2 separate regions of the Homo sapiens genome follow, and region 2 is linked to region 1. The links are contacts of gene promoters, found by promoter capture Hi-C in blood cells and fetal thymus (Javierre and others, 2016). All regions are on one chromosome and are shown on one strand. Each heading gives the region's core, a stretch centred on a gene start or on the middle of the fragment in contact. The rest is flanking DNA. Distances are from core to core; before and after follow the strand shown. Region 1 holds the start of TFAP2C (transcription factor AP-2 gamma). Region 2 has its middle 190 kb from the start of BMP7-AS1.

Region 1 (3,019 bases), core at 438-2,937:
AGACCTGGGGGAACGAGTTCTCAAAGCCCGGCGGCGAAGGTCTAGGCGCTGCTCCCAAGCCCGAGGCGCTTGGAGGCGCCAAGTCCGAACCCTGGGTCTTGGGCCAGAAAAGTCCGTGGCCGGAGCCCGGGGCGAAGGAGCCAGAGCCCGGGGCGAAGGAGCCGGACGCCCGGTGCAGAGCTATCTCGTGGAGCCCGCCCATGACGCAGGGACTGCTGGAGGTGGCAGCGCGGCAGGCGCGGATAGAGTGCGCGGCGCGGGAAATGCGCACCTCCCCCGCCCCCGGGACCCTCCCTTCCACGCCCTCGGGACAAAGACCTCCGAGCGGGCGGCGCTCGGAAAGCAGGGCCCGCCACCCTGCGCCGCCCTGGGAAGTGAAGAGGGAGCGCGCGCACAGGGCGGCCCTCCCTGCTGGCCGGGCCCAGCCGAGGGGAGTAATAAGTGGGGGCGCCCTGCACTGCCAAGGGCAGTGTTCTCGCACGTCGGGGCGCAGAGGGGGCATGAAGAACCCTGGAAATTGGGCAGCCTTGCCCGCGCACGTTCCCTCGCCCCTGGGCGGCCCGACTCAGTTTCTAAAGGATGCGTCCCCATCTGCCCAGGGGTCTCGGGGCGCCGGGAACCTGGAGGAACATGGCGCTGTCGCCTCCTGGCGGAAGCGCCCGGGCCTGCGGGCAGGGGCAGCCCTCCAGGGCCCGGAGGCGCAGTGAACTCCCGCGAGTCCGTAGCCCGAGCTCCGCGCTCCCGGCGCCCCTGAGCTCGCCTAGCGCTGCCTGCGTCTTCTTCCTCTTCCCGCTCGCCGCCTCCTTCTTCCCTCCCACTCTCCGAAACTCTAGCTCAACCTGTCCGACAGGCTGGAGCACTCGCGAGCTCTTACGGCCCCATCTGGCCTCGGGCACCCCCACCACCACTCCCCAGCCCCCACTTCTTTTGAAAGCCAAACTTCGGTTGTTTTCGTGCTTCCCCGAGGAGGTAGCGGGGCAGGTGACAAGCCGGCCTTGGAGGAGTGTCCGCCAAGGTGTCGCTAGCAGGTAGCCTCATCTGACCCCTTTGGACAGAGACTTCGTGCGTAAAAGCCACGTCTGAGGGTTGCAGACGGGGCACTTTTCCGAGAAAACGGGAAGCAGGGCTGTTTGCCGCTTAGGAAAGCGCCCGGTAAGCTGTGTGGGTGGGATTTGCCATTCTCTTTCCAGGCCTCGTTCCCGAGGGGAGGCTATTTAGGAAAAGGCCCTATACAGGAAAGGGGCCCCGCAGAAATGGACTAAGGGGTGTCCGGAGAAGTGGATCCCGTCCCACCGAGAGGCCAGGGCTCCTATGCCCTCGTCCCCGACCTCGGTCCAGTGGCCCCTGCCTCCCGGACTGTCCTCGGCGGGGCGGGGCTGCACCCCGGAGCCCCAGCTCACCTCGCAGTCCTCTTCGTACTTGACATTATCGGTTATTTTCCACAACATGGCGTCCGGCGTCCCCCAAAACAGTCGCCAGTTAAATCCAGGATCCCCCCAGCCCCCAAGCGGTAAATCCAAAATCGGGGTCACGGTGACCAGGCGTCTGCCGCCGCCCCCGCCGCGCGCGGGCCTTGCTGTCCGGGTCACTGGACACGCATCGGCGGCTCTGCGAGCGTAGATGCTGCCGCCGCGAGTGTCAAGACCGCTCCGCGGACGGGGAAAGCCGCGCCCGAACAGTGTGTCCTGGCGATAGCCGGGGGACCCGAGCGCCTTAATGAGAAGGAAATTATCATAACTCCTCCCCGGGGGCCGGCGCGGAGGCCCAGGCGCCGGGCGGGGCGGCCCCCAGCCAGTCCCAGCCTAGCTCCGCCCCGCACCCGGGCCTGGCGCAGCGCCGAGCCCCACGCTGTGAGGGACGAAGCGCGGAGTCAGTGGGCGGTGCCTCGTTGACAGCCGAAGACCTGCGAGGCCTGGGTCCCCCGACGCGCCTTCCTTCTGTCACCTCCACCGTAAACACACCTGAGATTGGCAGAGCTGGGGGAAGGGATCCAAATACTGAAACCCACCCCTCTTTCGCCTAAACGGCCTTCACTCGTTCCTCCAAAAGACGGATGTCACCTGGAGTTAAGAAACTGCGCATTTGGGGAGCGACTCAACAACCGGGGTCTCCTCATCTCCTAAAAACACATCCCATCCCACCTACACCCCACTGAGGCTTAAGGTCTGAGCTGGGATCATGCAGCTGGAGCCCCAGTGCGCCAGAGACGCCCAGTTCCCTCCGTGGGCACAGCGCGGTCCCGGCCCCCGGGCGGGAGGAGAGAGGAAGGGACTCCTGGGGAGTCTGCCCCAAGGGCCGCAGAGGCAGCAGACGGTCCTACCCGCCCAGGAGTTGCGGACAGCGGCGTCTCGCCGCTGTCGCCCGAAGTGGCATCTCCCGCGGCTGGCTGAGGCCAGGGGGAACCCGCGCGCACTGGACCAGCCCAGCGGCCCGGCCCTGCCCTGCCCTGCGGAACGCCGGCTCTGCAGCTGCCTCTGGCGGGCCGGTCACTCAGAAGCCTCTACTCGCCCTGGGAAAGAAGCGCCGGGCAGGAATAAAACCCGAGCGCCACGGGTAAGGTGAGGGTGAGGAGGTGCAGGAAGTTGGGAGAGAGCCTGCAGAGAGCTCTCGACTGGAGAGGTAGACACCCAGGTCCCACATGTTTAGACAGAAAACGAAACTTCCTTCCACACAAACGCTGCTTCCCTCTCCCCTTCGGTACTTGCCACCCAAACTTGAAAGCAAAGTGCAATACTAATTTTTAAAATTTAAACTAACGAAATTCTTTGGCCCAGTTATTATGCAGCAATTGACTTTCATTGTAAGGGGAACATCGCTAATTCTCGAGGGCGTATTTGTTGGGACGCCCCAACTGGCTCCCTGGGCTGGATTTAAACATTCTGTGGGGATTAGAGGACAAGACTATTTCTATTTGATACTGAATACGATTTTGCAATAATCAATGCCTATCAGTACGGTGTCCGCACCTGCAGTAGACATGACTCTCCCATCCACGGAATGGCGGCATCCACTGCCTCGC
Region 2 (2,729 bases), core at 148-2,647, 390 kb before region 1:
ATGGCCTTCTTTTCTCTGTCTCACTGTGTGTCCTTTTTGGTCTTATAGAAGATCACCCTCATTGGATTTAGAGACCACCCAAATCCAGTATAATCTCATGTTGATCTTTACCTTATCTACATCTGCAGCGATCCTATTTCCAAATCAGGCCATATTCTGAGGTTGCAGATGGACATGCATTTTGCAGGGAAACTGTTCAGCCCACTACACAAGTGGGCACTGGCTTTACCTTATCCCAGCTTCAAAGCCAGGGTCATTGTGAACAGACTTCTAAGAAATGTTCTCTACCCTCCCACAGCACCTAGTAGGAGGCACCCCATGGGAGTCCAGGAGAGGCCTGTCTGGTGATTCAGTGGTTTCCATGCCCCTCAGCTAAGTAGCTGATTATGTACAACAAGGATCTGCAAACTCTAGCCCCTGGGCCAGCAGCCTGTTTTTATAAATAAAGTTTTATTGGAACATAGACTCATCCATTCATTTCCATATTGTTTATAGTTGCATTCATCCTACAAAGGCAGCACGTGTTGACCGGCTGGAGTGAGACTCTATGGACCACAAGCTTAAAATGCCTGCTGCATGACCCATTACAGAACAGTTCCCCAACCCCTGATGTGGAAGAATGAAAAATTCTCTCAACCCAGCAGGTGTGTCAGAATTTTTCTAGGGTAGATAATTGGGAATTAGGAAAATACCCCAATAAATATTCAAGGATGAAGAGGCCAGTACCCAAAGAAAGTGTCAGAAAGACAAGACACTTGAATTGATTAGGCTTAGCTAGATTTAACTGTTTTAGAAACAAAGCTGGCGGGGAAGAGCCAGGAGAGGGAGACAGGGGACGAAGCTGGGGCTCCAACTGGTAGAAATGGCAAATAAATTTTTGGCAGAACACTCTTTCTTTTGAAGTCACCCATGTTGCAGCAGAGCGACCCTCTGTTTTTGCCTAAATTTTCAGCCATCAACTGTAAACAGCAGCAAACACAGAGGCCTTGTGGGAGCCTGAATTGGAAATCAAGGGAAGGGTCTGGGTTCCACAGCCAGATGCCGCCAGTTGAGGGCCAGCAAATATGGACAATAAGAGGCGCTTTAGTTGGACACCAGAGGGAGCCCAGCTAGAGGGGACCAGGAGAGAGAGAGGCACGCCCTTCCCCGTAACCCCAGCAAGACCTGGGAGACACACTCTGCATCTCAAAGGACGGATGGCTCCACCAACAGGTGGACGAGAATGACATTTACATGCCCTGAAGCTGGAGAGAAGGGAGAGTTGCAGCAGGTTCTCCAGCCCCTGGAGACTTTCCCATACTCTTGTGTGTGTCTCTGTCTCTGGATGTCCTTTTCCAGGACTCTTTCAAATGTCACCTCCTCTCACCTGCCCTCTATGTCCCTTCAGCCTTGGCCTCGTGGCTGTAAAGGGCTCTGGACCCAACTTCCCGGGCAGGTTGCCCCCTGGAAGAATTCGGCTCACCCAGGCTGAGATTCGGAAAAGGCTGAGCACATCCCGGCACACAGACCTCAGACATCTCACCCTGCGGTGGGCTCCGCTTCAGAGAAGGATGCAACTGTGAGGAGGGCATGAGACATGGAGGCAGAAGTCTCGAGTCGGAGTCCTGGCTGTGCCACTTGCAGGCTTGGTGACTTTGGGCAAGTCACTTCACCTGGCTGAGTTGTCACTTGCCCCTTGGTAAAGTGAGGCCATTGCCCCTGCTTTACATGGTTTGTGTGTGGATCCAATGAGACATGTGCAAACTGTAAAGCGCCAGCCCCACGGGGCTCTCATGAGAGTCGGGAGATGCTTGGGGCAGAGGGACTGGAGAGCTCAGGCCAGGCTGGGAGGCCTGGACCAGGGCAATGGTGACAAAAGCATCCCACGAGCCAGGACCACCCTCCATCTACCTAGTAGGTCTGCTCTGCCCACGCCCCTTGTCCCTCCATCTCACCCACCTAACCCAAGCAAGGAAGAAACAGCTAAGCTGACTTGGGATCTGATAGCCCCAATGTTAAAATCTCAGAAGGGAGTTTTTGTTTAGGGGGTGTTGAAAAAGTATACGCGACACTCTGACAGGGCAGGGAGGAAACACTAATAAAAAGCGCCCAGAAAGTCATGTTCTGCCCTGGGCTGACTTTCCAGCTGGTTCCTTCATTTCCAGTGCCATCTCTCCCGACCCTACTCTGTATTTTAGTATGCACGGAAGGGACATAAGTCATAAATGTCAAATGTCACCTTCTCAGAGAAGCTTTGCCAAACCCCCAAGTACAGGCCCCCCGCAGCATCTCTCAATTCCTCTGCTGGATTCCCCACAGCACTGCTCACAGGGGAGCACGCGGGTTTACCTGGACGGCACCTGTCTCCCCAGCCTGACAGGACTCCCCACAGGGGCCGAGGCTTGGTTTGCTTTCTATATTCCCGATGCCTGGCCCAGCGGTTGGCACACAGTAGGGCTCTGTGAATATTAGTTGAATCAATGAATGAATGAATGAATGATGGCAGCATCTGGGATAGGGATGCCACTGGCTCTGAAAATGACTGCATTTCTCAGCTGCTGAGTGCTGAGGACAGACCAGCTGCATTTTGTTTGTTGCCTTTCCGATTGTTTTTGAGGCTTTGCAGGAGGAAAATCTAATCCGTATACTTCTGACGCATTTATAGTTTTCTCCCTAAACCATGGTACTTGGGGAGCCATTTCAGGTCTCAAATGCCTGTTTTAAAAAATAGCTTCTTAAATGTGTTGTTT

The links. The method cuts DNA at HindIII sites, captures the fragments that hold promoters and counts their contacts. A CHiCAGO score of 5 or more calls a contact.
Region 2: a contact is called between a fragment that was not itself captured here and the fragment with the promoter of TFAP2C in region 1, in 1 of 17 cell types (fetal thymus). The highest score is 5.0, in fetal thymus.

What each region holds. Positions count from the first base shown.
Region 1 is chr20:56,627,974-56,630,992 of GRCh38, reverse strand. TFAP2C (transcription factor AP-2 gamma) reads right to left here and starts at 1,687. Exons shown (of 7, transcript NM_003222.4): 1 at 1,401-1,687. The coding sequence starts at 1,448. RefSeq lists silencers at 1,366-1,660, 1,717-1,776. The HindIII fragment of the contact is 6,956 bases long and covers 1-3,019 here.
Region 2 is chr20:57,020,916-57,023,644 of GRCh38, reverse strand. No RefSeq gene overlaps it. Among named protein-coding and RNA genes, the nearest start is that of BMP7-AS1, 190 kb to the left of the region's middle. The HindIII fragment of the contact is 1,672 bases long and covers 562-2,233 here.